Linked DNA regions of Homo sapiens: all the other regions are linked to region 4. Evidence: promoter capture Hi-C in 16 types of primary human blood cells and fetal thymus (Javierre and others, 2016). All regions are on one chromosome and are shown on one strand. Each heading gives the region's core, a stretch centred on a gene start or on the middle of the fragment in contact. The rest is flanking DNA. Distances are from core to core; before and after follow the strand shown. Region 1 holds the start of EHBP1 (EH domain binding protein 1). Region 2 overlaps USP34 (ubiquitin specific peptidase 34). Region 3 holds the start of C2orf74-AS1 (C2orf74 antisense RNA 1). Region 4 holds the start of FAM161A (FAM161 centrosomal protein A). Region 5 holds the start of SANBR (SANT and BTB domain regulator of CSR). Region 6 holds the start of C2orf74-DT (C2orf74 divergent transcript). Region 7 holds the start of REL (REL proto-oncogene, NF-kB subunit).

Region 1 (2,700 bases), core at 83-2,582, 850 kb after region 4:
AAAGAATCCTCCCTAGACCCTAACACCTTTCAAGCTACTTTGTCCATGCACCCTGCTTTCCAACCTTCGTAAGATTGAATGATCCTTGTTTCCAGAACCCATCCCGCTTGCTTTCTTTTTATGTTAGCTTGCCTCTCTTTTTTTTCCAAACTGTCTGCCCATAGCTTGCTGATGCGCCTACTTCTCTGATTATTCCTTCTCGGTCTCTTTCCCATTTTACTCTGTTTATTCCTTAGATGCTAGGATTCCCCTGAAGTTTCATTCTTTGTCCTCTTTCTCCACACCAGGGGTCTGTGAACCACCTAAAACTGAAAACAATTTTTTGTGTTTTGAGACAGAACACTTTTTCCCCCTTGAGAAAGTATCTGTAGCTTTCATATTCTCAAAAGGGCCCTTGGCTCTTTTAACAAGATTGAGTGTCCCTGCCCTCACTCTGCCTCCTCCTTTTTGCCTTTGACCACCCTTTTTATATGCTAGCTGTTCCCAAATCCATCTACAGTTCTCACTAGGGGCAAAAGAGTCCGACAGCGAAGAGGAAACCAAGATTCAAAGAAATGTTGAAGACTCCGAACAATAAGAAATTGTACTGTACACATTTTGTGTCTAGCTCAGCTGATTCAATCCCACTGAAGACCAGTTGACTCTATGTTGGGCGGGGAGCGGCCGGGGTGTCGGGGGGTGCCTGACAGGGTCATTACTTCAGGTTGTCAGGTAAGATCCCAGGAGGAACTGGTGAAATAAAGGCTATGCGCAAAAACCCTAGTTGCCAGTGGCGGAGGAGAGGGCGCGCCCAGGTCCTGGCGGAGATGAGAACAGGAGAGAAACCCACAGGCAGCTGCACTGCCCACAGCTGCAGCGAAGCCAATCTCTAGGTCTGCAATCACCCTTAGGGGCCAGAAACCCAGCCCCGCACCAGCGGCGCCTTTGACGGACAGCCACCTTCTGCAATCACCTTGCAGTTCACTATAAACACTCCCTATTCCTCCCGCCTATCGCTTCCCTCTCCAAGCCAATCAGAAGAACGGGCGGGATCGTCCTTAGTCGGTTCCTTCTTTTTTTTTTTAAAAAAAAGGTAGCCTGTGCGTCGCATTCCGGCTTCGGGGAAAAACCACCTCCCGAGCAAGGGCAAGGCGGAGCCCCTGTGATGGGCAGGCAGTTCTACCAATGAGGTGCCCCAGCCGCTGTAAGACCCGGCCGCCGAGGTGGGCGGGGCACGCGCGGGGCCTGGCCAATGGCGGCGGGGCGGTGGAGGTTGAGCTGCCGTGGGTAGGGTTAGTGTGAGAGGTGCGGCGGGGGAGGTAATGATGATGGTGGCGGAGGAGAAAGGCGGGGGAGGGGGTGCTGGGCGCTGAGCGGTGGCTCTGGCAGGGCTTGGTAGGGTGGGGGACGGTCGCGGGGCGATCTGTCAGGGAGGGGGTGGGCGTGAGGGGCGCCGTCCGCCTGAGGGGCTGCAGATCCCGGCTACCGCGAGCGCCGTGGCTGGCTTGGCTGTTCCATGTGGCTCCGGCGGGGATGGAGGACTCGGTGGCGGCGGCGGCTGCTGCTGCGGCGGCGACGGAGGAGCGGCTATGAGAAGGGAACGGGGCCAGACTCAGCCCGACAGCGGGATTAGAGGTGTGAGGAGGGGGCGGGAGTGGACGAGCGGCGGGGCCGGGGCTCGGGGTCCGGGCTGGGGTCTTCTGGTATCGCCTGGGTGACAGGGACCGCGGACGAGCCACCGCCTGTCTCCGCTGGGGGGCAGGGGTCTGGGCTCCGTGCGTGAGGAGACTGGGCTCCGGCGGACTGTTTCCCTGAGGATGGGGGAGGGAGGCACCGCACCCTGCACAGTCCACTTGCCCCGCTGGTCATTGCTTCACCCCCAGGCAGGAGTTTCCATTTCCCTCCGGTTGGCAGCGAAGGAGCCCAAGTGGCCTGGAGCCGGGACATTGCCCTCTCTCTGCCTGGAGATTTCCCTCCACTCCTCGTTCCCCATCCATTTCCTCCCTCCGACTGAAAAATAGCATTCCTCCTGGCTCCCTAATTTGTTCCAAGCACATATTGTCGGACTTGAGGCTATTAATTATCGACTGAAAAACAAAGTTTATTAAAAAATACTCCACTTCTCCCTCTTTCTGGCGGTGGACATTAAACAGCATCCCTAGACTTTCCCGCTCTGCTCGCCCTTCAGTGATGCTAACAGGGGGAGGTAGGGCCCCGAGTTACCGTCTCTCTGGATTGTTGTTGGTGCTGACTACCTGATGTGTCGCTCCACGTCTTCGGTGTGAATTGTAATTTCTTCCTTGGTGTCTTGCATCCTTGATGTTACTGGCTTTTGAGGTCAGTGTTTTGTTTCATTGTTTAAAAGACATGCAGAGAACTGGGATGGTCTTTTGCAGCGTTATTTAACATGGGTGGTTAGTCATTTCTCATGATTCTCTCCTCATATTCTTTCTCTTTTTGTCTTTGTTTTGCTTTTCAGCCCTCCAGAATACCCATCATATAGCCCCTGAGGTGGCATGGTGATGTCTCCATGAGGGAACCCCTTCCCACTCATCCTGTCACGTATATCATAGTGTTCTTGACTGGGCCATTCATCTAAGATGGGATTTACCCTGTGAAACAGGGAGAAGACTTATGGACCCCAAGCATCATTTCGAGTTGTAGTTGAGTTTTTAAAAGACATACATGCAAAGTTCCTTTGCTTTGGACCCTCTGCATTAT
Region 2 (2,746 bases), core at 157-2,656, 640 kb before region 4:
ATAAAATCATCATTTAAGCTCTCTGCTTTCCTACCTACAGAAAAGAGACTGCTTCATCTGTTTCCTGGAAATGCAGCATAAGGAAATAATATTAAATAAACTCTAACTAAAAAAAAGTCTATTAATATCTAATCAACTGCTAATTATCTACAATGGCAGAAGATATGGGAATATTTTTAAAGTTTCCACATAAACAATGTTGATTTTTATAATAGGCTCATCTTCTGATTGTTAAATTCTGGATAATCATAAAATTCACCATATTATCTAAACACTCATCAGCTGGTAATTAAAAAAGAGTAACATGAAGGAAAAAAATACTAAAAACGTGTCAGCCTTGAAAATAGTTTATAAAATACAGTCATGTGCCACAAAATGAAATTGTGGTAAATGATGGATCACAAACACAATGGTGGTCCCATAAGATTATAATGGAGCTGATAAATTCCTATTAGCCTAGTGACTTCATAGCCATGGTAACATTCACAATGCATTACCCACATGTCTCTGATGACGCTGGTATAAACAAACTTGTTGTACTGCCAGTCTTGTAAGTATACCACAATTATGTACAGTACCTAATACTTGATAATGTTAATAAATGACTATGTTACTGGTTTATGTATTTACTATATTATCATTATTTTACTACTTATTTCAAAAAAAGTTAAATGTAAAACAGCCTTAGACAGGCCCTACAGGAGGGATTCCAGAAGAAGGCATCATTGTCAGAGGAGATGACAGCTCTAAGCTAGTTACTGCCTCTGAAGACCTCCCAAGTGGGACAAGATGTGGAGGTGGGAGACAGAGATACTGATGATCCCAACCCTGCTAGGCCTAGCCTAATTGTGTGTGTTTATGTCTTAGTTTTTAACGAAAACATTTAAAAAGAAAAAAAATTTAAATATGAAAAGCTTATAAAGATATAAATACTTTTGTTCAGCTATAAAATGTGTGTTTTAAGTGTTATGATAGTGTGTTTTAAGTGCTACGATAGAAGAATCAAGAAGTTAAAAAAACTTATAAAGTAAAAAAAGTTCAGTACATTAATAATGAAGAAAAAGTATTTTAAAATAAATTTAGTGTAGCTTAAGTGTACAGTGTTTATAAAGTCTATAGTAGGGTACAATAATGTCCCAGGCCTTCACATTCCCTCACCACTCATTCACTGGCTTACCTAGGGCAATTTCCAGTCTTGCAAGCACCATTCATGGTAAGTGCCCTACACAAGTGTACCATTTTCTGTCTTTTATTCCATATTTTTACTGTACCTTTTCTATGTTTAAATACGTTTAGATACACAAATACTTACCTTTCTGTTATAATTGCCTACAGTATTCAGTGTAGTAACATGCTATACAGATTTAGAGCCTAGGAACAGTTGGCTATACCATATATCCTAGGGGTGTAGCAGGCGCTACTATCTAGTTGTGTGTGAGTAGTCACTCTGATGTTTGCACAATGATGAAATAGGCTAAAAATTTATTTCTCAGAATGTAACCCTGTTGTTATGCAACACATGACTATAATTACTCACACAGCTATATTACTGTTAACAGGTCTTCTTTCATTAGATACCAGAAAAATGTTGTTATAGACTACAACTGGAAATCCTTCTACTTTATTCCTTTCCTTTTTCAAGAAGAGTTAAGAAAGCTCCAAATCTTTTTTTTCTTTTTTTGAGACTCGCTCTGTCACCCAGGCTGGAGTACAATGGCACAATCATGGCTCACTGCAGCTTCCACCTTTTGGGCTCAAGGATCTTCCCACCTCAGCCCCCCGAGGAGCTGGGACTACAGGTGCATGCCGTCACACCCTAATTTATTTGCTAACTTATTTATTTATATAGAGATGGGGTTTTACTATGTTGCCCAGGCTGCTCTAAATCTTTTTTGAAATAAAGCTTTAAGTAGTAAACTTTGGGAAAACAATTGTATTCAAAATTAATCCAAAATTTAAAAACAATCCCTTTAAGAAATCCGGCAAAGGCGTAGTTAATTTCCCTGTTTACTAATGAAGACTCACATTTGAAAGCTTTCCAAAGAAGACAATCTGAAATAACCTCATCTTAGATTGAGTAGCTTAAGATATTACAGTGAAGTCTTCAGTAAAGTACCATTAAAAAAAATGTGCCTAATAAAAAACAACACTTCCAAGTCTTAGATGTAATACATAGAAGAATTTAAGAAATTAGCCTGAACTTTATTTCTCTAGGTTAAGGGGAATTAAGGGTAATTTGTAGTAGTTCCTGTAACCATTCAATAACTTCTGTAGCTCTGAAAATTAATTATAAAGACTATGTTTTATAATTTTGGCCAAGTCATATAGATCAGAAAGCCAGATAGATATATTTGGGCTAAACAGAATGCAAAATATTAACAGACTCATCCAAAGGTGCAGAAAACTTCCTGGAGGCCTCTAGAACTGAACTATCAAGCCTGAGTTAGGATAAATTGCCATAAACAAGACTATTCAAGCTTTGGGTAGAAGGCTATACATAAAGGTTCCCTTCAACCCTAAAATGATAAAACATACACAAATACAAACCAAAGCCAGACCAAAAACTGTTTAAAAGTAGTTCATGAACCTTCAAAATGTTCCAAAGTGGCTACATGCACAAATGCTTCCCCAATGTAAATGATTTATCTTTAAACATCAAAAGGATGGTCCTCATCTCACTGGAAATAAACAAGACAAAACTAAAAACATCTTTTTACCTTATTAAAGTAGTCCAGCAGGAGCGGCC
Region 3 (2,700 bases), core at 157-2,656, 680 kb before region 4:
CTCCCGCAGTAACATGGGACTAGTTGGAAAGGTGCCGGGAAGGGGGGAGGGCGAGAGACTGCGTCGCGGAAAAAACCGCAGCGCGGCAACTGGGCGCGGACTCGCTCTTAGGCGAAATCCGCAAACGGTGTGACGTGTGCGCGCTGTGGCCCCAAAGGCCGGTCTTACAGCGACCTGGGCGTTCGAGGTCGTGTCCTCGAGAGCTATAGGGAGCCTGCCGAGGCCACCTGACGGCGGTGTCGCGTCTACACTGCCGGTTGGACTCTCAGGCACCCGCTACTCAGCGCCCTGCTTCCCGGCGCCGGGAATCACGAGCCCGCCAGCACCGCGGGACTTGCAGCGCCCTCCGCCCTTCGCAGGCGGCCCAGACAGCCCCGTCCCGCCCTAGCGTTAGGAGACGCGCAGCGGAACCCCGGCGGCCCCAGCCCCTCCCCGCCCGCGCGTCCCCGCGTCCCCGCGTCCCCGCGCGACCCGCCTCCCAGATCCCGGCTGGGGCTCCCGGGCGCGCCGCGGCAGGGCGGGGCGGGGCCGGGGGCGGGGCCTTCTGGCAGTTTCTGGGAGCTGCGAACGCGCCGCCCCGGGGCTCGGCGGCCGGAAACGCTGGCTTCGGAGCCTTAGGCGCCGCGGCCTTTCCTTGTTTTCCGCCCAGTCCACGCCGCCATGGCCAAGTGGGGCCAGGGGAACCCCCACTGGATCGTGGAGGAGCGGGAGGACGGGACCAACGTGAACAACTGGCGCTGGCGCGGCTGGCGGCGGCCTCCTTCCGGGATCTGGGGAGGGCCGGGCCGCGGGAGCCGGGGCTGCCCTGGGGTCTGTGCGGGGCCGCGGGGCCAGGGGGTCAGGGGGCCGCCCCCCCTCAGCTGCTGGACGCAGGGCTCGGCCTTCGCCTCTCGGCTCGGGAGAGTCCTTGAGTACGGAGACCGGCTAGGAGGGTTGCAGCTGCCTCTTTTTGAAAGTTGGGTTGGGCCCCAAGAGTGACTTCCGACAGACCTTTCCACTCCCACCGTCTGTGGCCTGAGGGCCTTCCCTTCTCCTCCCGCCCACCCCTCTGGATGTTTCGGGGAGTTAGAAGGGAGCTGGATTGAGAGACTGTGTTAGGGGCGGGGGTATGGAACGTAGTGGAAAGGGCAGAAATTTGGATCTCAGTTCGCGCCCACCCCGCAGGCGCCTCCCGCGAGCCGGGCCCTCTGTGAGTGAGACAAGCTCCCCTTCCTTTACGCGCCTCACCTGGCGCGTGGGGAGAGGTCGGCAGCCCTCCGCCGCAGAACCTCCGGAAGGGATGTCCTCTGCCCTGCGCCTCTGGCCGGGGCTGTGGTCCCTCCAGGCCGTCGAGGGGATGCTGAGGCCGGTCCCCAGAGGAGCATGACTTGGCTGGTCCGGAGGAGCTCTGAGGGCATGGGCAATCTTGGCTCGCTGCAACCTCAGCTTCCAGAGTTCAAGCGAGTCTCCTGCTTCAGCCTCATGAGTAGCTGGGACTACAGATGCGTGCCACTACGTCCGTCTGATGTTTGTATTTTTAGTAGAGACAGGGTTTCACCATGTTGGTCAGGCTGCTCTCGAACTCCAGATCTCGTGATCCGCCCGCCTGGGCCTACTAAAGTGCTGGGATTACAGGCGTGAGCTAGATCTGACTTTCTAGTGTCCTAGCCTTGGCCCGATGGACATGTCATTTCTCTCAGCTCGTTTCTGTCCCCTAAAGTGAGAATATTGCCTGGGAAGATTACATTAGACGATGTATATGCGAAGACACTTGATAGCTGGTATTGTCATGATTCTGATTAGTTCACTACTGCTACTTTCCCTGTGGCCTAGGCTTTGCCTATTTCCAGTGGGCGAGCTAGCTAGATCCTCCTCCCTTAAATAAGCCAGTGTTTTTAAGACAGAATACTACTTGCATAGTGGACAATAATATCTTAAAGAACTGAGCAGGATGAAAAGAATTTGATAGAAAGCAGGTTTGAGGAGCACATTGGAGGTTGGCAGGTTTCGAGGCTGCTTGAGAGGACTTGGGCCGATCTGGGCTGGGCTTGGACGTGACCCTGGCACCCAGGCAGGTGGATCCCAGCTGGGGCTTCCATTCACGACTTTCTGGTCCCTGGCAGGACAGAGCGGGATGCCACCAGCTTGTCCAAAGGGAAGTTCCAGGAGCTCCTGGTGGGCATCGTTGTGGAGAATGACGCTGGCCGCGGCGAGATCAACGAGTTGAAGCAGGTGGAAGGGGAGGCTTCGTGCAGCAGCCGCAAAGGAAAGCTGATTTTCTTCTATGAGTGGAACATCAAACTGGGCTGGAAAGGTAACAGGGGCCTCAGGGTACTAGTGGGGCTGGGGACAAAGTGCGTTCATCATTCAGCGAATGTTTTTACAGCCCCTGCTATGGGCCTGGCACACTGACTGGCTCCTGAATCAGCGTTGGTAGATCCTGACACTCTGGCCACACTTGAGTTCCATGGGCCAAGAAGGATGGGGATTTCCCTTCTCGCAGCACTCGCAGCTGCTTAGAGCTCATTGCTGTCAGCTGGGCCCTCTTCTACCAGGCCCTTGTGAACAGGAGTCTCCCGGCATTGCTGCCTGGAGCACTCTTCCCCCAGGTAGCTGCCTGCCTCCTTCAGGTCTTTGTCCTGAGTAAAGCCATCTCTGTGCATCCTTGGAGACTCCTGCCTTGTGCCATCTTTCTTCCCTACTTTATTTTTCCCCAAGGCA
Region 4 (2,848 bases), core at 260-2,759:
GGAATGGATCCTAATACAGAACTCTTCAATCCTTTTTCTCCATCACGTTGCCTTGTTGCCTACTGAAAATTGTGTTGAGGGGTAGCTTCATCATGAACAAAATCGGTCCTAGCACTCTGATCCTGGTTCATGTTCAGGGTCTCAGTCTGCCTTACTCTGGATAACTTCAAGTTGTTTGTCTGTTGGTGAAAGATTGGTCACAAAAGGTGTTGCTAAAGATGTTCTCATTAACAATTTTACTGTAGATTAAAGAGATCAGAATTCCAAAATATCCAGTGATTTCAGTTAGTCCTCAATCATAAGTTTGGTGTCTGAGAAGCTTTGGACACATGGTATTAGGAAATTTTTTCTATCTGCAGATTGCTAGTTTAAATTCAAGATTCCCATCTTTTTTTTTTTTTTTTTTTTTTGAGACTGGGTCTGAGATCTCAGCTCACTGCAACCCTCACCTCCCAAGTTCAAGCGATTCTCCTGCCTCAGCCTTCCGAGTAACTAGGATTACAGGGGCGCACCACCACGCCCGGCTAAATTTTGTATTTTTAGTACAGACGGGGTTTCACCATGTTGGTCAGGCTGGTCTCGAACTCCTGACCTCGTAACCCGCCCACCTCGGCCTCCCAAAGTGCTGGGATTATAGGCACGAGCCACCGCGCCCGGCCAAGATTCCCATCTTTTAAGTGAATTGAGCAGATGGCAGACCCTGCCCTCTACCTGCTGGACTGGTGTCCACAACAGATTTAACAATGAAAACTGATCAGTGAAAAGGCCGTCTCGCTGTACCCTAAAGAGCTGTTTAGGAAACACTGAAACCTCAGTGATTTGCTTATCTGTATCCGTGTCTGATTTAGCCAGTGAACACGTGATGGTTTTAAACACACATCTTTAGAGCACTATGTTGAGATCCGCTTATAACCAAGATCTTAAGGTAATAACGAAACACACCTGACAGAACAGTTTTCCTCAAATTACTATATATAGCCAGATATATCTCTATATATCCATTCCCGAGATGCTGGAGAGTAGAGAGTAAAATTCTATACTTTGCACTTGCCAGAAGCAGAGTAACATAAATGTTGTCTAGGAAGCTTTTACAACAGACTGGTGAAAATTAAAACACTTTTCAACGCCTCGATTTAGAGTAATTTTCGTGAGCGTAGAGAAGGGGCTGGGCCAGGACCACCAAGTAGGGACTATGTGCACAGGGACCCGCGTTTACCAGCCTGCCCTCAGCTGGGCGGGGAACCGGACAGCCCTCAGCCTGCACCCAGCCCATGCGAGGTCCCAGCCCAAGTCCCGCCCCAGTATTACCGATGCCCCAGCGGGCTGAGCCACTTTCTCCTCCTCTTCGTCCTCCAAGATCGCCTCCGCTGCCGCCAGGGCCTTTAAGGGGTCTTCGCGTTCGTACTGGGCGACCCGCGCTCCAGTGATGGGATTTACCGGGGTCTGGAGACTGGAGGCCACCAGCTTCGCCACTCGGTGGGAGGTGGCCATCGCCCCGCCTCCGAGGCCTGAGCGCCTGCGCTGGCCCGGGACGGGAAAGCTGGTGCGGCCCCTGGCAACCCGGGGGCGCCTAGCTAGGGAGCCGGTTGCTATGGGCGCCGTAACTGGGGACGCTACAGGAGCCGCCAGGGACCAAAAGTCACGCAAAATCCACTCAGGCTGCCAGAGACCCGAGTCGGGTGCTTACTGGATCATGGCAGTCAGTACCGAGTCTGTTGGCTGGTTCCGAAGGTTGGCAGGCTGAACAGGGCACTTATTCCACTCCTTTGCGTCTAACCGCCTGAACGCAGACTTCTCACATTATACAATGAAACAACTGCTTTTGTGAAGAAAAGAACGCTTTTTTATTAACTGCAATAACATGTTAGAAGGAGACAGTTGATGGAGGAGACGGCGGCGGCGGAGGAAAGCAGGGCGTGTTACTGGGTGGCGGTCTCAGAAGAGTGACAAGGTTGGCGTCCCGCTACCTAACATGTCTCCCGCGGGGGCCAGAGTGGGAAGGAGGGCGGTACATTCTACTCTGATTGACTTGAGGGCTAGCAGGAATCCACCAATCAGAAGGAGGCTCCCAGTTGTCCCTCTCGCTTTTTTCTTGACATGACCAATAAAAGCCCAGAGTTGGGTGGCGCCTGACCCTCCCACTAATGAGTGATAGTGCAGGTATTGTAAACCTGGCGTTTGCTTTGGGTTCTTCAGCTTGAGAGTGACAGGATTGAACGGCACAAGTGCCCAAGAGTCACCACAGACACATCCATCTCCCTCATCCGTATCTTCTCTTCCCACTCGGGATTTGGACGCATCAAATGGCGCCTTCCCTCTGCACCACGTGGCAGTAAGAGAAGCCAAACCTCAAAATAGCGGACGTGGTGCAGTCTCAGACATCTGCTCCCTGAGCCCCTGCTTACTGAGGCCGAGGCTGCCGCCCCCTATCTACTCCCTATCTACCCCCTCTCTATCCTTTGCCCTCCTCCTGCTCCCCAGCCCTACGACCGGCCCCCTCCGGTCAGTATTTTCCTCGTTATGCGCTGCACATCGTCGAGAACCCGTCTCTAAGGTCTGAGCCCTTACCAAACCTTTGTTCTCCTGTCTGGGTGTGAGCACCTACAAAGTCTCCTACGTCCCCACTTCCTTCAGGCTGCTCTTGGTTTTAGCTGAACAGTTGCTTCCCATGCTGGAACAGATGCTGACTGGGTTCTAAGCAGAAGCCAGAGCCAGAACCATGAGATATGCACCGCCAGGTGTGGCCAAGTTTCCAGGGGAGCAATTTCCAGTCAGACACGGCAGCCAGTTTTGTGGCTACAAAACTGCCTCAGCCTCCGGAGTAGCTGGGATTACAGGCGCACTCCCG
Region 5 (2,915 bases), core at 376-2,875, 790 kb before region 4:
AAAAATTAGCCGGGTGTGGTGGCACACGCCTGTAATCCCAGCTACTCGGGAGGCTGAGGCAGGAGAATCACTTGAACCAGGGAGGCGGAGGTTGCAGTGAGCCAAGATCGCGCCATTGCACTCCAGCCTGGGTGACAAGACCGAAACTCTGTCTCCAAAAAAAAAATAATAATAATTTACCTGGCTGGGCATGGTGGCTCACGCCTGTAATCCCAGCACTTTGGGAGGCCGAGGCGGGCAGATCACCTGAGGTCAGGAGTTCAAGACCAACATGGTGAAACCCCATCTCTACTAAAAATACAAAAAATTAGCTGGACATGGTGGCATGCGCCTGTAAATCCCAGTTACTCAGGAGGCTGTGGTAGGAGAATCGCTTGAAGGGAGGTGGAGGTTGCAGTGAGCCCAGACGGTGCCACTGCACTCCAGCCTGGGCAACAGAGCAAGACTCCATCTCAAAAAAATAAAAAAAGAATTTACCTGACTTAACCTAACATCTTATGATACGACACTTGCCTAACTTTATTTTTATTTTTATTTTTGACAGGGTCTCACTCTGTTGCCCAGCTTGGAGTGCAGTGGTGCAAACATAGCTCATTGGGGCCACCACGCCCAGCTAACTTAAAAAAAAAACAACTTTTTTTTTTTTTTGGTAGAGACAGGGTTTCACTTTGTTGTTCAGGCTGTGCTCAAGCAATCCTCTCGTCTTGGTCTCCCTAAATGCTGGGATTATGGGATTACAGGTGTGAGCCACCGCACCCAGCCACTTTAATGTCTTTGTGGAACAAAAATCGTAAAAGATCTGCAGAAAGTCACAGGATGATACAATTGGTAAAAACTCCTGACATTCTGTACAGTGAACCACTTAATCTCTACTTAATCATCAGATCTCGTAGTAATTATTCATTTGGTTAAGGCTTTACTTTTTCTGTTCTTTCTAATCCTAACATTTAATTTTGGTTCTCAGAATAGACCAAGTGGAAATTAGATAGAAATGTTGACATGTAGCAGTTACCCTACAATATTGAGCCGTTTGCATTTTACTAGATGCCCAATAGTAGTGTTCCTCACAATAACACACACACACACACACACACACACACACACACACCCTATTAATGTATGAAAACCGAATTTGTAATCCAGAGCTATTTACATTTTTAAAGAGCTACCTCCTGGTAAAGACACTTCAGGTCCTTACCCAAAGACCTTGGTCTAAAAGATACTTTCGGTGTCCCTCATCATGCGATCTTTCCGCTCTACCTAAGCGGTGTACCAAATGATCTGCACCAAGAACAATTTCATCCATTCTTTAATCTTTTATCTCCTGTATATCCCCCTTTCTTCTGGACTCAGGGTTGGTCACCTAAGATCAGGCTCCTAGGATCTGGTTGCTAAGAGACAAGACGCTGGGAGGGTGGGGACGCTGCACTGCGACAAGCCTGGGAGTGTATGCCAGAGGAGGAAGGAGAAGCAGCAGGCAAGGCAAGGCGACAGTCAGCCGCCGCCGCCCCTCCGGTGCCCTCCCGCCCGGCAGGGGCTCGGCGCTCATTGGCTCCGCCGCTGCGGCGCTGGCCCGCGATTGGCCGGGCGGCGTCGGCTCGGCGGCTCCCCCACCCCTCGGCGCTAGTCTCCGCAGCCGCCTGCAAGCGGGCGGGGGCGGGGTGTGAGGCGCTGCGGACGGGGTTGCGGGCTCGGTAGCGGCAGCTTCAGGGCGCGAGCGCGGGCGGTGCCGACCACTGCAGGTAACAGAGGCGCTGCGAGGGCAGCCGCGGCCCTGTGGAGGTGAGCGAGACGCCGAGGGGGCTCGGGTGCCCACCGCGGGGCGGGAAGTGCGGCATGGGGCGGTACCGCTCACAGCCAGCCGGCTCCCGCCGCGGCTTCCCACCCCGGGCGGGGTCCCACTTGCCCAAACGCCCCCGAACGCCCCCGTGCACAGCCTCAGCCGGCCGCGCCTCGAGCAGCCAGCTGGCCCGCGTCCCGTCACCCGCCCGGTCCATGTCCCTGCAGACCGTCCCGCCCGCGCACAGCGGCGGGAACCCCAGCTTCTGCGCGCCCGGCCGCGCCCCGGGCCTCTGCCCCGCCTCGCTCCCGCTGCCCGGCGCCTTTGTCCGCTCTGCGCCCCTGGAGTTTCTGTGCCTCCACGGGCGGGAGCGGGGCGCGAAGGTCTGGGGGTGCCCCGAGGACGCGCCGCGTAGTGAGCCTCCGGGCCCAAGGTTTGACTGGCTTTGACCTCATGCCGGTTCTGGGATGTGATTTTACTTTCTCCTCCAGCTGACTCCGATCTCCTGTGTGTGCAGAAGTCAGGAAGCCTGGGTACAAGGCTTCTTCCCGGTCCGGGATGACTCGGTGTTACCGCCGCCCTCTGTTAGGCCAGAGGCCTTTGACCTGCCTGCCTGCCTGCCCCACGGGGCCCCCTCTCTTCCCATCTTTCCACTGGCTAAGGGAAAACGTCTCTGTCTCCAAGAGCTTTTTTTTCTATTTGAAATAAGAAAAAAATATATCAGATTCCTGTTGTAGACCTCTATCTGGTGTGGAAGTGACTTAGACTAGTCTTCTTAATTAATACATGTATATTAAATACATAAACCAAGAGAAGGGGGTCGGGGAGGGGAGGGGAAGTATGTTCTTAAAAAATGAAGTCTGTTAAACATATTGGATTTTTATTTTTGGTAAATAACGTATTTTACCTTAAATATTGTCAAGATTTTGATATTTTATGAATGGGAGTGGATTTCATAGTAATTTGAACTTTGAGCTTTTTCTTGTCACCGTTTTTGATAAATTTATACTTTCCTGAATGAGGTGCACTATAACAGCTATTTCGAGATAATTTATGTTTTATTAAGGATTATCCATCAATGCTATGCCTTTTATACTTAAATTCAGACTCTGATTTCTTGGACATTCATTTAACT
Region 6 (2,700 bases), core at 118-2,617, 710 kb before region 4:
TATAACCAGATACCAGACACACGAGATGTTTTGGAGGGAGGGTGGTGGAGCCAAGATTGCAGCTCCTTATTGAGGAAAACAGTCCTCAGAGATCCAGAGTCATTTCTCCTGTGTTCAGCTTGAAAACCTTGGGCAACTTCTGGAGATTTCAACGTCTCACAGAGTGCGGAAACATGACTGGCGCAGCATCCTTTCCGGAATTGGTGATGTCCTTCCTGTAAGGGTTGATTTTCCATCTCATCAACCAAATCGGGAAAGCCGCAGCATCCTTTTCTCCAAGAATGACAGGTGGTTTATCTCAGGCTTTTCTGTCCCGGCGCCTTTCTCTCCAATGCAGTCTATGGAATATATATATAGAGAGAGAGCGTGAGAGAGAGAGAGACGGAGTCTCGCTCTGTCGCCCAGGCTGAAGTGCAGTAGCGCGATCTTGGCTCACTGCAAGCTCCGCCTCCCGGGTTCACGCCGTTCTCCTGCCTCAGCCTCTCGAGTAGCTGAGACTACAGGCGCCCGCCACCACGCCCAGCTAATTTTTTTGTATTTTTAGGAGAGATGGGGTTTCACCGTGTTAGCCAGGATGGTCTCGATCTGCTGACCTCGTGATCCGCCCGTCTCGGCCTCCCACAGTGCTGGGATTACAGGCATGAACCACCGCGTCCGGCCTGGAATATTTTAAAATATGCAGATTATTAACCCCGACACTTTTGAAAGTCCTTTGTAACCAACTTCCTCCTCAATATAAAATATTAATGTAATTTGGCCGGGTGAGGTGGCTCACGCCTGTAATTCTAGCACTTTGGGAGGCCGAGGCGGGTGGACTGCCTGAGCTCAGGAGTTTGAGACCAGCCTGGGCAACACGGTGAAACTCCGTTTCTACTAAAATACAAAAAATTAGCCGGGTGTGGTGGCGCGCGCCTGTAATCCCAGCTACTCAGGAGGCTGAGGCAGGAGAATTGCTGGAGTCCGGGAGGCGGAGGTGCAGTGAGCCGAGATCGCGCCACTGCACTGCAGCCTGGGGAACAGGGCGAGAATCCGACTCTTTAAAAAAAGAGAAAAAAATTTAAGTAATTTAATTTTTTATTTTTTTCCGCCCCCGCCGTCCCGCCCCTAGCATTAATTTTTAAAACTCGCTTTAGACACCGTTTGGAGGGGGCCAGGTGCTGAATACCTGCTGATGTAATGCAGTGATTTTTTGTTTGAGGGCCACAGGAAGACCCCTTGTGGCTGTTGTACTGGCATTCCCTCTTCATAGCAGGGATGGTGCCTCTGGACATTTTCCGACAGCAGGGATCGTTGGGTGAGGTTAGCAGCGCCAGCCCGGGTTAGCGGAAGCAGCCTTCAGGTCTCCTAGGAGAGCAGGTTTATGAGCATGCGCAGCGGATTTTCCGTTAGGGAAGCCGATGGGGCGCGGCTCCTTGGAGCATGCGCACACAAACTTTCCGCTAGGAATCAAGCGAGCATGCGCACACAGATGTTAGGGTTCGGGCGAGCTATTTGGAGCCTGCGCAGTCAGATCCGAGGACATGTTGACGTCGTCCGAGAGTCTTAAAATCCTGCTCTGGCCGGATTCCAGACTCGTGGGGGAAAGGCTGGTATGTTCGTTTTATAACAGGAGTTTTAGCGTCATCTTTTGTCCTTGGATAAGTTTTTCCAAATATAAATATATTAAATATTCATTTAAAATATCTAAGAATTAACAGGCAGCAGTGCATTAGACAAATGGGCGAAGTACTGGGGTACCAAGTTCACAGAAAAATAGTAGTTAAAAATAGACTTTAAATATATGAAAAGATGCTTAGCTGCATGTTTTTGTGTTTTTTATTTATTTATTTATTTTTTTGAGATGGAGTCCTGTGTTGCCCAAGCTGGAGTGCAGTAATGCAATCTCGGCTCACTGCACCCTCCGCTGCCCGGGTTCAAGTGATTCTCCCACCTCAGCCTCCCGAGTAGCTGGAATTACAGGCAGGTGCCACCACGCCAGGCTAATTTTTATATTTTTAGTAGAGATGGGGTTCACCATGTTGGCCAGGCTGGTCTCGAACTCCTGACCTCAGGTTATCGGCCTGCCTCAGACTCCCAAAGTGCTGGGATTACAGGCGTGAGCCACCGCGCCCGGCCTGTTTTGTATTTTATTTTTTCTGAGACAGGTGGCACGATCACAGCTCACTACAGCCTCCACTTCCCAAGCCCAAGCAATCCTCCCACCTCAGTTTCACCAAGTGCTAGGATTACAGGCCAGCTTCAGTTTTAATAAAAATGCAAATCATCATGATTGGTGAACATTGAAACGTTTGGTAATATACTCAATATAGGAGGGTGTCAGGAAAACAGGTGCAGTGTTACAGTGCTAGTAGGAGCAGAATGCAGCAATCCTTAGTGGTTATCAAAACCACACTGAATAATATTTGCATTTTGATCCAACAATCCCACTTTGGGGAATTTTGCCTCCAAATACACTTGCATACATGTAAAGTAATATGTGTATGAGATTATTGATTGTAATAGCAAAAGGTTGTAAACTACGTGAGTATCCATCAGAAGACTGATATTATAAACTACAGTACATACACACAATGGAACATTATGCAGCTATGAAAAAGAGTGAGGAATCAGTTCCCAACATACTAATGTGGAACCATCTCTAGCATATCTTACTAAGCGAAAAAAGCCCAGGTGCCAAACAGTGTATAAATTATGCTTTTT
Region 7 (2,747 bases), core at 93-2,592, 970 kb before region 4:
CCTGACCATATGAAAAGGTGAGATTTCCTTTTTTTTGGTCTTTGCACTCTCTTCAGTGGATTGCCTGTGATGTGCATCATGGTACGTTTTAGTACATATCCAATAATAAAACTGTTTCATTCTTTTGTTGTACATTGCGCATTTCGTGGAAAGAACAGTTTGGGGTTGGCAGGATATTTTAAATTATTTGCCCATATGGGTCCCCCAGTTTTGGGCACTTGTATGGCAGGCTGATATTCCCCATTACCTCTCCGTACTAATTTTAACTAGTAAGGGACAGGGGCAAGGGCATGGAGCTTTGGAGTCAGACAACCCTGGCTTTAAACTGTGCCTTTTATCAGCATTCTGAAGTACTGTATGTTGAAGTAACTTCTCTGAACCCCGAATACTTCATCTATAAAGTTAGGAATAATAAATACGTCATAGATTAAGTATGGACATTATCTGATGCATAGCAGGTACTATTCAAATGAAGGAAACGAAGTTATCCTAGGTCCTTTAATGCACTAAATGTGTGCTCCATTTCCGCCTTTCTTGGCATCTGTGTGAAATCTCAGGATATAGTGTCCACTAAACTTCAGTGCACTGCCTAATGAGACAACGAACTCCAAGTGCGGACCTTTTGAGTTTAAACGGGTTTCAGTAGGTAAAATACGTAAAGTTCACAGTACCCTCGCAATTTAGATGGAGGAAAAAAAATCAGTCGGGGGGGGGGTCCCCGTATGCAAATACAGGAATTACAGAAGAAGACAGGACCCCCGCCGCAGCACCACTTCCCCCTACAGGGCGCAACGTCCCGCCGCTGGCGCGGGGGTGGAGATTTGCATGTGCGAAGTCGGGAAGAGGGGGAACCACCTCTCGAAAACCCCGGCCGTCGCCCTCCCAGGCCGGGAGAGTCGGCCCCGCGCGCCCCCAAAAGCTCCCCAGCGGCCGGCCCTCTCTACGTCATCCGCACCCTCCCGCCCGCTCCTGAACTTTAAACCACACTCGGAAGAACAACCTGGAGGAGGGGGATTTCTCAGGAGCCAGCGGCCTTCTCACGCTGCTAGCCGTCACCTCCCGGCTCCCGCCGTTCCCTGCGCTCCCGAAGCCCACCCCAAGCTCCCGCTCCCTCGACCCCCTCCCAAGCCAGCCGCCGCAGCAGCGCCGGGGGCGTATGCGTGGGGGCCGGCGGGGAGCGTGCGCGGGGACAGGCAGGGGCGGGGCGCTGGGGGCGGTCGCGCGCGCGGCGGCCGCGAGGTCGCCCCGCCCACGCCTCCGGGTGAGGGTTGCTGCGTCGGGCCTACGTCAGCCGCGGGAAATTCCCCTCCCGCCAGGCTGCTCGCCTCTCGGCTGGGCCAGCACTCGGCTCTCCCCGCTCCGCCCCCTGCCCCTGGCTCCCGTACGGTGGACGGCGACGCTGGGTGACCCGGGGTGCAAGAATTCAGGGGTTGGGAAGGTGTGAGCCGCAAACCCAGCGGAGGGCGGGAAGAAGGAGGAGGCCTCTAGGGTGGTCGGGGGACTGGGGGCCCCGCCGGCAGAGGTCCCTCGGCCTCCTGACTGACTGACTGCGGCCGCCTCCGGCCAGGACGCTGGGAGCTGCCTGCGGGAAGGTGCGGGGAGCGGAGCCATGGCCTCCGGTGAGTGTTCATGGGGCGCGGGCCTGGGCCGGGGGAAAGGAGCTCTTCTGAAGGGGGTCCTGCCGCAGTGAGTTTAGGGAGCTCAGTTTTTGCTGGGGCGCGTTCTGTCTTTAAAATCTCATATGGTAAAATTGTCAGCTTTTAAAAAAGTTACCTGCTTCAGGGTTTGCGTGCAGAATCCAAGCCACGCTCTGTAATTCGATCCTGTTGTCATAGCAGGAACCTTAGAAATTCCCAACGACTTGATTTTAGGATTAGGGAAGTCATAAGCGAACCAAAGGAGGACGAAGAGTTCTCATTAAAAATGTATATGTATTGAAGATGGTGGTTTTATGTTTTAGAACAGGAATGAGGAACCTTCAGACCTCGGGCAAGCTCTCTCCCCCTTTTTAGTTTAATTTCATCAAATGCAAAGAGGTGATCCCCCTTGTACTGACAGTTGTACAAAATGTGTCACGGCTTTAAAAATCATCCGTGGTATTTTAACACGAATTAGAAAATCCGTGGTATTTTAAGTGTTAATGTTGCTTCGACCAAGTGTAGGCCGGGCGCGGTGGCTCATGCCTGTATTCCCAGCACTTTGGGAGGCCGAGGCGGGTGGATAACCAGAGGTCAGGAGTTTGAGACCAGCCTGGCAAACATGGTGAAACCCCGTCTCTACTAAAAATACAAAAATCAGCGGGGCGTGGTGGCGCGCGCCTGTAATCCCAGCTACTCGGGAAGCTGAGGCAGGAGAATCGCTTGAACCTGGGAGGTGGAGGTTGCAGTGAGCCGAGATCGCGCCCCTGCACTCCAGCCTGGGCGACAGAGGGAGACCCTGTCTCTATTTAAAAAAAAAAAAAATGTAGTTTTTACTGTGAGATAAAGCTCAAGGTTCCTAATCTGACGAATAGAGACGTTGAATCCCCCTTCCTCCTCGCTGGAAATAAGGGGAAAGAGGAGTTTTAGAATATCCGAGCTTTAAAATAATGAGTAGGAATGAATACAACTTTATCACTTATGTGACTATATATTTTCCCTTAATAAATGCTCGATCTCTCCCTTTGGGGGGGAATAAGTTTGTAAGAAACATTGCAGAGCAAGAAAGTCTCCTATATACACAGATGTGGTTGGGGCTGCCTGGAGCTT

The links. Contacts are between HindIII fragments. The CHiCAGO score rates a contact against its expected background, and 5 or more counts as called.
Region 1: a fragment that was not itself captured here is called in contact with the fragment with the promoter of FAM161A in region 4 in 2 of 17 cell types (monocytes and total CD4 T cells); the score reaches 6.9 in monocytes.
Region 2: a fragment that was not itself captured here is called in contact with the fragment with the promoter of FAM161A in region 4 in 1 of 17 cell types (M1 macrophages); the score reaches 6.0 in M1 macrophages.
Region 3: the fragment with the promoter of C2orf74-AS1 here is called in contact with the fragment with the promoter of FAM161A in region 4 in 11 of 17 cell types (fetal thymus, total CD4 T cells, total CD8 T cells and 8 more); the score reaches 20.5 in fetal thymus.
Region 5: a contact is called between the fragment with the promoter of SANBR here and the fragment with the promoter of FAM161A in region 4, in 1 of 17 cell types (activated CD4 T cells). The highest score is 5.0, in activated CD4 T cells.
Region 6: a contact is called between the fragment with the promoter of C2orf74-DT here and the fragment with the promoter of FAM161A in region 4, in 14 of 17 cell types (naive CD8 T cells, total CD4 T cells, activated CD4 T cells and 11 more). The highest score is 22.4, in naive CD8 T cells.
Region 7: the fragment with the promoter of REL here is called in contact with the fragment with the promoter of FAM161A in region 4 in 1 of 17 cell types (non-activated CD4 T cells); the score reaches 6.1 in non-activated CD4 T cells.

Annotation. Positions count from the first base shown.
Region 1 is chr2:62,704,439-62,707,138 of GRCh38, forward strand. EHBP1 (EH domain binding protein 1) reads left to right here and starts at 1,275. Exons shown (of 23, transcript NM_001142616.3): 1 at 1,275-1,614; 2 at 2,459-2,700. RefSeq lists an enhancer at 982-1,121 and silencers at 1,152-1,411, 1,532-1,611. The HindIII fragment of the contact is 7,077 bases long and covers 1-2,700 here.
Region 2 is chr2:61,209,055-61,211,800 of GRCh38, forward strand. USP34 (ubiquitin specific peptidase 34) reads right to left here. Exons shown (of 80, transcript NM_014709.4): 69 at 2,718-2,746. Among named protein-coding and RNA genes, the nearest start is that of C2orf74-AS1, 32 kb to the left of the region's middle. The HindIII fragment of the contact is 989 bases long and covers 913-1,901 here.
Region 3 is chr2:61,176,879-61,179,578 of GRCh38, forward strand. C2orf74-AS1 (C2orf74 antisense RNA 1) reads right to left here and starts at 1,407. Exons shown (of 2, transcript NR_183879.1): 1 at 1,228-1,407. It also overlaps the pseudogene AHSA2P. RefSeq lists a silencer at 313-862. The HindIII fragment of the contact is 7,287 bases long and covers 1-2,700 here.
Region 4 is chr2:61,852,551-61,855,398 of GRCh38, forward strand. It overlaps FAM161A (FAM161 centrosomal protein A), which reads right to left and starts at 1,510. Exons shown (of 7, transcript NM_001201543.2): 1 at 1,309-1,510. The coding sequence starts at 1,491. RefSeq lists enhancers at 994-1,123, 1,284-1,443, 1,684-1,913, 2,654-2,703. The HindIII fragment of the contact is 5,666 bases long and covers 1,084-2,848 here.
Region 5 is chr2:61,064,246-61,067,160 of GRCh38, forward strand. SANBR (SANT and BTB domain regulator of CSR) reads left to right here and starts at 1,626. Exons shown (of 22, transcript NM_001129993.3): 1 at 1,626-1,782. RefSeq lists silencers at 1,406-1,775, 1,806-2,155, 2,166-2,225 and enhancers at 1,515-2,016, 2,017-2,516. The HindIII fragment of the contact is 4,406 bases long and covers 1-2,915 here.
Region 6 is chr2:61,143,608-61,146,307 of GRCh38, forward strand. It overlaps C2orf74-DT (C2orf74 divergent transcript), which reads right to left and starts at 1,368. Exons shown (of 2, transcript NR_036496.1): 1 at 1,166-1,368; 2 at 1-338. It also overlaps a transcript of C2orf74 not described here. RefSeq lists enhancers at 581-1,502, 1,197-1,546. The HindIII fragment of the contact is 8,178 bases long and covers 1-2,700 here.
Region 7 is chr2:60,880,232-60,882,978 of GRCh38, forward strand. REL (REL proto-oncogene, NF-kB subunit) reads left to right here and starts at 1,343. Exons shown (of 10, transcript NM_001291746.2): 1 at 1,343-1,619. The coding sequence starts at 1,610. It overlaps REL-DT (REL divergent transcript), which reads right to left and starts at 1,083. Exons shown (of 3, transcript NR_033980.1): 1 at 1,001-1,083. RefSeq lists a silencer at 938-1,477 and an enhancer at 1,086-1,755. The HindIII fragment of the contact is 7,860 bases long and covers 1-2,747 here.